Regions from separate parts of the Homo sapiens genome. Here all the other regions are linked to region 3. Evidence: promoter capture Hi-C in 16 types of primary human blood cells and fetal thymus (Javierre and others, 2016). All regions are on one chromosome and are shown on one strand. Each heading gives the region's core, a stretch centred on a gene start or on the middle of the fragment in contact. The rest is flanking DNA. Distances are from core to core; before and after follow the strand shown.

The links. Contacts are between HindIII fragments. The CHiCAGO score rates a contact against its expected background, and 5 or more counts as called.
Region 1: a fragment that was not itself captured here is called in contact with the fragment with the promoter of ELAVL3 in region 3 in 1 of 17 cell types (M0 macrophages); the score reaches 5.0 in M0 macrophages.
Region 2: a contact is called between a fragment that was not itself captured here and the fragment with the promoter of ELAVL3 in region 3, in 1 of 17 cell types (neutrophils). The highest score is 5.3, in neutrophils.

What each region holds. Positions count from the first base shown.
Region 1 is chr19:11,177,073-11,180,832 of GRCh38, forward strand. It overlaps KANK2 (KN motif and ankyrin repeat domains 2), which reads right to left. Exons shown (of 13, transcript NM_001136191.3): 5 at 1,481-1,648; 6 at 1,273-1,375. Among named protein-coding and RNA genes, the nearest start is that of KANK2, 19 kb to the right of the region's middle. The HindIII fragment of the contact is 2,157 bases long and covers 676-2,832 here.
Region 2 is chr19:11,041,546-11,044,840 of GRCh38, forward strand. It overlaps SMARCA4 (SWI/SNF related BAF chromatin remodeling complex subunit ATPase 4), which reads left to right. Exons shown (of 35, transcript NM_003072.5): 30 at 1-15. Among named protein-coding and RNA genes, the nearest start is that of LDLR, 46 kb to the right of the region's middle. The HindIII fragment of the contact is 3,906 bases long and covers 1-3,295 here.
Region 3 is chr19:11,478,746-11,482,399 of GRCh38, forward strand. It overlaps ELAVL3 (ELAV like RNA binding protein 3), which reads right to left and starts at 2,301. Exons shown (of 7, transcript NM_001420.4): 1 at 1,855-2,301. The coding sequence starts at 1,863. RefSeq lists silencers at 819-1,013, 3,388-3,637. The HindIII fragment of the contact is 20,383 bases long and covers 1-3,654 here.

The DNA.
Region 1 (3,760 bases), core at 504-3,003, 300 kb before region 3:
CTTCTAGCATACTCACCCTCCTTTTTTTTTTTTTTTTTTTTGAGATGGAGTCTTGCTCTGTTGCCCAGGCTGGAGTACAGTGGCACTCACTGCAAACTCTGCCTCCTGGGTTCAAGCAATTCTTCTGCCTGAGCCTTCCAAATACCTGGGACTACAGGTTTGCACCACTGTGCTCGGCTAATTTTTGTATTTTTTAGTAGAGTCGGGGTTTCGCCATGTTGCCATGTTGGCCAGGCTGATCTCGAACTGGGTTTACAGGTGTGAGCCATTGCGCACAGCCACCTCTAGCCATTTTTTTTTGAGACGGAGTCTCGCTCTGTCGCCCAGGCTAGAGTGCAATGGTGTAATCTCAGTTCACTGCAACCTCTGTCTCCTGGGTTCAAGCGATTCTCCTGCCTCAGCCTCCCAAGTAGCTGGGACTGCAGGCACCCACCACACCCAGCTATTTTTTGTATTTTTAGTAGAGATGGAGTTTCACCATGTTGGCCAGGCTTGTCTCGAACTCCTGAACTCAAGTGATCCACCCGCCTCAGCCTCCCAAAGTGCTGGGATTACAGATGTGAGCCACCGCGCCCGGCCACTTCTAGCCCTTTTAACACAGGTGATTCAGACTCCTGTTCCACTGCAAATAGGGCTCTCTCGTGTTTCTTGCTGGCTCTGGACAAAACCTAATCAAGCTTCTAGGCTCGGCATTCAAGGCCCCAAACCAACCATCACTCCCTGCACCTCCCACTTCTCGTGTCACTCTGCTTTCCCACCTCTGAGCCTTTACCCACGCTGTGCCCCTGCCAGAAGAGCCCTCCCCACACCCTCTCTTCACCTTGCTAGCTCCTACTTCTCCCGTACCACCTGTGTCTCCTCCTTCTGGGACTCCCCTAGGGCCACCTGTGTCTTTCTTGAGGACCTGCACCACCTGAGTGTTCCCCATCACGGCTCCAACCACCCATCAGCACCCAGCTCCCCACTGGACCAGGAGCTCTATCAGGGCAGGAAGCGGCGTCCGGCACCTTCTGTGGGGTAGAGCTGTGCAGTGGTTACACCTTGAGCTCTTGAGCCAGGGCACGCAGGGCTGACTCCTGGGTCACTGAGTGAGCTCCAGAAATGCGCTTAGCCTTCCTATGCCTCAGTTTCCTCATCTCTGTGTTGTGGTTTGATTAAACGAATTAACCAAAGCAAGGAGCTCAGAATGAGGTAATTAGGAGGCTCTCGTGCGTGGATGAATGGAGGAGGGGCGGGAAGTATGGGGTGGGGGGTGGGGTCTTCTCCTCTCACCCGCCGTTGACCCCCACGAACTGGAGGCTCCTCCGGTGGGCCGTGGGGTCTGCAACCTCCTCTTTCCGTTTCATGATAGATCGCACGCCTGCCGGGGGCCCGCCTGGAGGGGAGGACAGCGGAGGTGCTGTGAGAGTCCTTCAGGGCCAGACTCCGAACTGGCGCCATCCCGGTGCCCCGTCCCTCTTGGCGGCCACCCACCACTTACCGGTGCCCCCGGCCTCCTCGGACTCTTGGGAGGCTGCTTGCCTGGTGGGCTCCCTGTGGGTGGGCTCCTGGGTGGGCACTCGGCCTGTGCTCTTCTCAGGCTGTGTAAGGGAGGCTACCTCGGACCCCGGGGGTGACGAAGACGATTCGGCAGGAACTTCTGGGAGGCCTGGAGGGACAGGAAATGAGTGTCTGCTCTTGGTCATAAAAGCCAAACCACCACAGCCCTGCGGGTCATACACCCTGGGCCAGGAGCTGTAACAGGGCTGATTTTTGTGTTACCACATCCAGTCTTCCTGCCCCTTGGAGGGAAATCGGATTATTACAGATGAGGAAACTGAGGCACAGAGCTGCCAAGGTAACCCCTTGAGCAGGTGGCAGAATCCAGTTTGGTGCCTGCCCAGCAGCTAGTCAGGGACAGGGACAACCCTGTGGCCCCATATTCCTGGCTCGAGCCTGAGTGATCGCTAAAAATAAGGTTTGGCCGGGCACGGTGACTCATGCCTGTAATCCCAGCACTTTGGGAGGCTGAGGCGGGCGAATCCCCTGAGATCAGAAGTTCGAGACCAGCCTGGCTAACATGGTGAAATCCCGTCTCCACTAAAAATAGAAAAATTAGCCGGGCGTGGTGGTGCACACCTGTCGTTCCAGCCACTCAGGATGCTGAGGCAGGAGAATTGCTTGAACCCGGGAGGCGGAGGTTGCAGTGAGCAGAGATCACGCCAATGCACTCCAGCCTGGGCAACAGAGCAAGACCCTGCCTCTCAAAAAAAAAAAAAAATCAGAGATAAAAACACGTCTTGGTGGCCAGGCACAGTGGCTCATGCCTGTAATCCCAGTACTTTAGGAGGCTGAGGCGGGCAGATCACGAGGTCAGGAGTTCAAGACCAGCCTGGCCAACATGGTGAAACCCCATCTCTACTAAATATACAAAAATTAGCTGGGCGTGGTGGGGGGATGCCTGTAATCCCAGCTACTCAGGAGGCTGAGGCAGGAGAATTGCTTGAACCCGGGAGGCAGAGGTTGCAGTGAGCAGAGATCACACCACTGCACTCCAGCCTGGGTAACAGAGAGAGACTGTCCTGAAAATAAAAAATAAAAAAAAAAAACACATCCTGACTAAAAAAACGAAACGAAACAAAAGAAAACAAAAGACAACAAAAAACACCCACCCAGGTTGGTCTGAGGACAAAGGTGACTTCCTGGATGCTGAGGTCCTGGACTGCCAGCCAACAGCGTGGAATAAAAGTCCAGTTTCCTTTTTGTGTAGCCACCAATGTCTTGGAATCCACTCAGGTCCCCCTGGGCCACATATGGCTGCTTTGTAAGACAGGGTTTCACTCCCTTCACTGAAGCTTGAGTGCAGAGATGCGATCTTGGCTCACTGTAACCTGTGCCTCCCGGATTCAAGTGATTCTCCTGCCTCAGCCCCCTGAGCGGCAGGCAGTAAAGGCGCATGCCACTGTGCCCAGCTAATTTTCTGTAATGTTTGTAGAGATGGGGTTTCACTATATTGCCCAGGCTGGTCTTGAACTCCTGAGCTCAAGTGATCCGCCTTCCAAAGTGCTGGGATTACCTCCGGAGCAGCACCGCCCAGCCCATGCATGGTTTCTGTGTCAGCATTTCCTCGGGGGTTCCCCTTCCTGTCCCCCGGGGCGCCAACTCTGAAGACCAATTAATTTGAATTCCCTTTAATGGCTAAAAAGGTTGTTGGGGTTTTTTTCTTTGTGACAGGGTCTTGTTATATTGTCCAGGCTGCTCTAGAACTCCAGAGCGCAAGGGATCCTCCCACCTCAGCCTCTCGCATAGCTGGGATTATAGGCATGAGCCACTATGCCCAGCCTTAAATTTTTTTTTTTTGCCATATACAGTGACTTCCTGAGGCCCACAGGCAATATTCAACTTTAGTACAGAACGGTGACCAAATGCTGGACATAGGCAAAGAGTAACATAGACAGGGCCGGCTGCATGAGACACTCGGTCATCGGCATGGCCAACAGCATCCCCAGACCAGGGTGTGGCCAGCTCATACCACAGAAAACATAAAAACCATGCCAGAGCCAAGGCTTGAACTCATGAGTGGGGAACTGAGCGAGAGCAAACGCCAGTTGCTATGTCCCTCTATGATTTTTCTTTTTAAACTTGGCAATAAATTCACGTGAAACAAACAAACATACTGCATGGCCAGGAGACAGATTCACAATCTCAATCTCTGCCCAAAATGCAGGGCGCCTAACTTGAAATCCTGGAGAGGCCGGGCGCAGTAGCTCACGCTTGTAAT
Region 2 (3,295 bases), core at 241-2,740, 440 kb before region 3:
CAAGTACAAGGACAGGTAAGCGAGGAGGCGGGGAGGGCGGGGGCTGTAGGGGTCCCCGTGGGAGCAGGCCTGGCATCTGCACTCTGACTCTGCACACTCAGGCTTGGGCCGCTCACTCTTTCACTCATCCACAAACACTGACTGAATCTCTGTGTCTTTGAGCCTGGCCCTGAGGAACATGCTTTCTGGAACAGGGAAGCACACATGTATCTGCGGTGATGAGAGGGAATGTCACATGTGGTCGAGAGGAGAGGCAGGGGTGCGGGTCTCGGAGAAGGGGACATTGCAGCAGAGCCTTGAGAGAGGGGAGGTTGGGGAGAGTGCACCAGCAGAGGCCACAGCAGGCGGAGAGGCTCTGCCAAAGTTGTGGCCTGGTGGCCTCAAGGGATGAGGTGGGATGAGGGGTTATATGGCAGTAATGGGTGCTGCCCGTGTGGCCAGGAGGTTGGGGACAAGAGGCTGGCATGTCTGGAGCAGAGAAAGTGGCAGCCCTCTCCTGTCCTTGCACCCTCCCAGGCTACCTGTGCCATCTCTGTGTTGGTGAGATGGTGGCCACACTCCTGCTCTCTGCCAGGCCCTGCTCCAAGCCTGGAGATCGCTGTCCTCACAGACATGTCCTATATACGAGGCAGCATGCGGTTCCAGCTGTGGCCACGGCCCAGCGGCGGATCATAACGTGTTGGTGGATCATGAGTGCCATTTATATGTTTTTCATTTACTAATATCCTTTTCCGTGAGCGACTCTATATGGGTACCATTTAAATAAGAAGAAAGGAATGTTCTCAGCAACTCCCCAGGGAGGCATGTGCACCTTCTGCCAGCCCAGGGCAGGTCACAGAGCTGGGCAGGAGCCAGCAAAGGTGTAAGGCCCATGCCTGGCCCAGGACTCACCCAGTCTTCCACTCTCCAAGGTCTTATTTCACTTCCTGGTACACACTGGCCAGTACGGCTGTCCCCGTAATGGGAGGGTTGTACTGTTTGATTTTAAATAACAGTTTGCTGTTAGTCATGAAGCAGAGCGTGGGGGAATTGTATCTGTTGGAGGGGAAAGTGAAGGGAGCCCACATGCATGGTTTGGAGAGAATCTTACCAAGTGTGAAGTTTTAGAGGATGGTAACAATTGGAGTGCCTAAATTAATGAGTCAAAATTACCGCGCAAGGCCAGCTGTGGTGGTCCACACCTGTCAGCCCAGCACTTTGAGAGGCTGAGGTGGGAGGATCACTTGAGGTCAGGAGTTTGAGACCAGCATGGACAACATGGTGAAAACCCATCTTTACTGAAAATAGGAAAACAATTACCTGGGCGTGGTGGCACGCTTTTTGGGAGGCTGAGACAGGAGAATCACTTGAACCCAGGAAGTGGAGGTTGCTGTGGACCAAGATTGCACCACTGCACTCCAGCCTTGGGTGACAGAGCAAGACGCCCACTCCAAAAACAAAATACTGCTTAAAAAGGTTCTTTTAGCCAGATGCGGTGGCTCATGCCTGTAATCCCAGCACTTTAGGAGGCCAAGGCGGGCGGATCACTTGAGGTCAGGAGTTTGAAACCAGCATGGCCAATATGGCGAAACCCCCTCTCTACTAAAACTACAAAAATTCGCCGAGCGTAGTGGTGCATGCCTGTAATCCCAGCTACTCGGGAGGCTGAGGTAGGAGAATCTTGAAGCTGGGAGGCGGAGGTTGCAGTGACCCAAGATCACATCAGTGCACTCCAGCCTGGGGGACAGAGTGAGACTCCGTCTCAAAAAGAGAAAAAAAGAAAGGTTCTTTTATTATTGGAAGAGAAACAGATGATGAAGGAAAGGAGACATATTCAAGTTCAATGCCAGATCTGAAAATGTCATGTGTTGTCAGTATTGAGAAAAAAATATATAGACTCTAATTCACAAACCTAACTCCAAGGCTAAGTCCTCAAAGAGGAAAGCAAGTGGAGGACTTAAGTTACTTAAAGTGCGGGATACAGCTGCGGGCAGTAGCACATGCCTGGGGTCCCCACTACTTGGGAGGCTGAGGTGGGAGGATCACTTGAGCACAGCAGGTCCAGGCTACAGTGAGCCATGATCACACAGCTGCACTCCATCCTGGGTGATGGAATGAGACCCTGTATCTTAAAAAAATGAAATAAATACAGAATACTTATTTAAAACATGGGCCAGGTATAGTGGCTCGTGTAATCCCAGCACTTTGGGAGGCTGAGGTGGGCGGATCACTTGAAGTTAGGAGTTTGAGACCAGTCTGGCCAACATGGCAAAACCCCATCTCTACAAAAAATACAAAAATAGAAATTAAACTGGCATGGTGATGCGTGCTTGAGCTCCCAGCTCGGGAGGCTGGGCACGAGAATCGCTTGAACCCAGAAGGCAGAGGGTGCAGTGAGCCAAGATTGCACCACTGCACTCCAGCCTGGGTGACAGAGTGAGACAATACCTGAAAAACAAAAAACAAAAACAAAAAAAGGGAATTCGCAGAAATCTAATGACAATGACAGACCCTCCCCATGTTTTATTTCTAATGATAATCTTGTGAGGGAAACTTAACATTACCAACCTAAAGAAGACCCTTGAAGCGCAGTGGGGAAAGCACGGGTGTCTCCATCACACTGGTCTCCTGGGTATCCACGTAGAGAGGATGAGCCTCGACCACCCCCACACACGCACACACCATGCACTTGGATCCACGTGACATGGACTGTGGATGTAAGAACGTGAAAGGTAAAACAAAATTCTAGAAGAAAGCACGGGAGAAAATCTTCATGAGTAGGCATCGATTTCTTCCACGGGAGCCAAAAGCCACTAATCACAAACAATTGAGAAATTAGACCTCACTGAAATTAATAACATCTGTTTATTAATGGACACGCTGATGGAGACAGTGAAAACTCCTCATAGATGAGGAAAAGACAACACAATTTAAAGCTGGACAAGAGCCGGGAACAGACGCCTCCTTACACAGGACATCCCAGGACTAATCAATGTGGGGAAAGGTGCTCACGTCATTGCATTAGCATCACAACTTCAAGAAAATGCTCGTTAAAACCAGAGTGACTTGCACCAGCACCCGCCCCAGAACGGCCGAATGCCCATCAGTGCTGGCAAGTCTGAAGCAGTCTGGCCTCACACCCTGCGTGTAGGAGTATGCAGCTCTTTGGCAATCTCTTCTGTTTTGCTTTGTTTGTTTTTAACCATCGAACTGCAGAAGATAATATTTTCTGAGGCTCAGCCTGTACATACCCTCTGACCCAGCAGCCTGCAGCCCTCGTTCTACCCAGGAGAGCTGAGTGCATCTGTCCACACCG
Region 3 (3,654 bases), core at 1,051-3,550:
GGTTTTGCAGTGAACACACCTGAGGCCACTTTTTTCTTAAAACCTCCTGTGTCTGACCCCCACGGCCCCCAGCTGCGGCCCCTGGCCCCAGTCACAGTGACAGATGCCTGGATACCGGCGACAATAGGGCATTGAGTGGCTATGCATGGTGAGGCTGGGCTACCACGTGGTGCTGACTGAGCCTCCTACTTCTGGGCCCTTCTTCAATGCAGGGTCCTCCTGGTCTTAATTTGTCACCTCTCTTCCTCCCAGCCTGTCCCCATGATACATCTCTGCCCCAGGGCTCGCTCACTGGAGAACCTAGGTCCTCAAGGCCCTTGTGTGACCTCTGACCACACCCTCTTTCCCTTTGTGCATTAGTTTCCTTTTTCAAATGAGAGAACCGATCAGAGGACGCTTAGGAGATGCTGGACTGTTGCGGGAGTTCTGAGGTCCTCAGGAGGCCACACTCCAGTTCCCAGACCTGGGTGAACAGCACGAGGCCCAGAGAGGGAAAGGAACGGCCTGAGGTCACACAGCAGGTGAGCCAGGCCTCCGGGACCTCATTTCTCAGAGCCAGGTGGGCGGGTCCCAGGGTCCAGGAGGGGAGAGGCTTAGGCATGGAGGGAGCGCCAATCATGCCCCCACCCCCAGTGCTAGCCACGACTCGAAAAAGGGGCCCGGAAAGAGACACAATGCACAGAGACACACACGCAGAGACGGAGAGATAGGAAGAGTGGAAGAGGGAGGCCCAGGCGCCGGGACCAGACAAAGGACGCGCGGCGGCGCGGGGAGCGGAGTCGCGCGGCAGGGGCGGGGGTGGAGCCGGGGTGGGGCTATAACTGGCCAGCCCCGCCCCCGGGATACGCCCGGGCTGCCGAGTGGGAATCCGAGGGCTCGGGCGAGGCCGGGCCCCCGGGGCCCTGGGGGCGGGGCCTAGATGGGCGTGCCCGGGCGTGGCCAGGCAGGGCGTGGCAGGGCGGGAGGGGCTGCGCGCTCGGGAGCTGACCAGCTCCGTGGCTGCTGAAAGCACCGAGCGCGGGGCTAGCGGTGCGGGCGAGCAGGCGGGCGGGCCGCGCTCAAGGTCACCTCGCGGCCCAGAGCCTTGGCGAGGTGGGGAGCCTGGACCTGGCCTAAGGGGGCTGTCTCGGCCTCCCACCCCATCTCCCGGGGGGCGGAGACCCGGGAGCCCAGAGGTGCCCCCCCAACCCGCGGGCCCTCCTCTCCCCTCCCCCTCCCCGCAGCCCGAGGCGCCCGCGCGAGGCTGCGGCCCGCGAAGAAGCGCCGAGAAACAAAGGGACGCGGCAGCAGCGGCGGCGGGCCCGCGGGGCCTCCGGGCGCGCCCCCTCCTCTCCCCTCCCCGCTTGCCGCAAGGTCGACGGGCTCGAGGACGAGACGCCCGCCTCCCGGGTGCGGCCGAGGCCCGGGGCGCGCGATCCGACGCCACCCGCTTTCCCAGGGCTCTCGGGGACGCTTTGTCGCTTTGGCTTGGCCCAGCACCAGTGATCGGGCCCTGCGTTTGCCTGGGCGGCCTGCGGGGTCTGGGCCTGGATGGAGGAAGCATCCTTAGCCGCCGCGGCCCCTCCCCCATCAGGCCTGCTGGAGAGGGGGCAATCCCGCCTCCAGGGCGGCGTCGGACGCCTCCCGAATCGCAGTCAGTCTCCCTAAGGCCCTCTCAGACCAAGCTCTAAGCGCCCTCAGCACTCTGGGCGCGGCCCTGCCCACTCTCAGGCCCCGAGGCTTGGTCCTACCCCCCCAACCCGGGCCTAGCTAGGCCTGGTCCTACCCCCCCCGCCGCACCCGCCCAATCTCCGCGGAGCCTGGGCCCAACTCCTCCCCGTCCCGATTCCCTTTCGGCGACAGGGGAATACCTACAGTGACCATTCTTGTGTGCCCGGCGGGCGCGGTCCGTGTTGAGGGGGGCTCCGGGGGTGGTGCACTCCTAGGGGGGCGCCCGATGCTCACGCTGGGGTCCCGCCCGGGCGGCCTCTGGTGCGGCCGCTGCAGATGTGGCGATGAAGGCGGCGGCTCCCTCGAGGGCCAGGGACGGGCCCGAACCCGGGGATGCGCGCGCGGATGGCCGGGCCCCGGGGTGGCCTGCGGGCGGCAGGGGATGGAAAGAGGGAGCGGGCGCGGGGTTGAGGACGCCCCCTGCGCGGCCCCGCGGGGCCCGGGGAGGTTGCGCTTCCCGACAGAGATCGCGGCGCTCTGCCTTTCGCCGCCGCCCCTCGGTCGGTCCTGTCCGGTCCCGTGTGTTCAAGTCCTCTCCCCTCGCCCACCCTCCCTCCCTCCCTCCGGCCCGCGCTGCGCGCTCCGCGCTCTGGACCGCGCCGCCGCCGCCCCCAGCCCTTTATAGCAGCAGCTGCCAGCGCCGGCGTCGCTCATTGGCTGCGGCGACCGAGCTCCGCCTCCTCGCGGCTCCCGACGGCGCGGCAGGTGGAAGTGAGCGCGCACTGGTCGGGACTCTGAATCCCCCAAAAGCGCATCCTAGGTGCTCGGGTTGCCAGATTTGGGCCCTCCTTCCCTCGAGGCCCTTGCTTCCTACCCTGGCACCCCTTCTTGGGCTGGCTTTCGGGCCAGGAGACGGGCTCCCCTCCTCCGTCCAGCTCCTAGAGCTGGAGGAGCCAACAGAGCGAGGAGGTATTAGTGGCCTGAATATGCGACCTTCCAGAGGTGTTGTCCACTGAGGGAACTGGACAGGGGATCAGGAACCAATATTTTAGTAGGCAGAGGCCTGGGTCCCCAGATTTGGAGGCACCAGTGTAGACCACCTCAAGACCACGGGGGAGGGTGGCTACTGTGGCCCTAGTCTTCTGCAGAAGGAGACTGGGACGCTGTTGGTTTTGAGTGAGCTGGATCCTTCTAGGGTTCAAAAGGTAAGGACTGGCACTCCCCAGTGCAAGGAAACTCCGCACTGCTCCGAAGGGGGTGAAAAGGTTTGGGGCTCAGTGTTCTGGACAATCATCGCTGGAGCCATGCAGCTCTGGGAAACCACGGATCCTTCTTGGACCCCACAGAACTGGGGTGGGTGGATCTGCCACATAAATGTCCTGGCTTTCTAGGCTCGTGATTGGTCCTCCTGACTGTGGAGTCATGCTCGCTCTCTGCTAGGGGGAACCTGGCCTCTCTCTAAGGCGTTGGGGGTGGCGCAGCCTCCTTTGGTGCGCGGGCGCCGGTGCATGTTTACGTCGGGGCGCGGGAACTAGCACACACTGGGGCGGGGTCGCCAGGGCGTGAGGCTTCAGCACCACAGACAGCAATCCGACAGTCCGGTCGAGGGCGCTGCCGGCGAGGTAGCCCAGACCCCCTAACTGGAGAGCGGCAGTCCCCACCCAATCCTCGTTCCTGCACGCCCTTTAGGCTCCAGACTGTCAGAGAGCGCCACCAGCGAGGAGAGCCTAATTTGCCCAATCAGGGGCGGCCCTTGAGATAACCAGTTACTGGAAGATGCCCTAGAGATCGAGCCAATGGGAGTGCGCGCACCAGGGGATGCTGCCACGCCTGGAAAGGGCAGGCCAATCGCAGTGGCCCGCGCAATAGGGGCGGTGGCGGTGCAGATCCCCGGGTGGCCCCTCTTGGGCTCGCCGGGGCGACCTGGCTGCGGGCGCTAGGGGCCCCAAGCGATGGTCTGTTCCCCACCCCGTGTTCCTCCCGGTTTCCGTCATCGGAAACTGA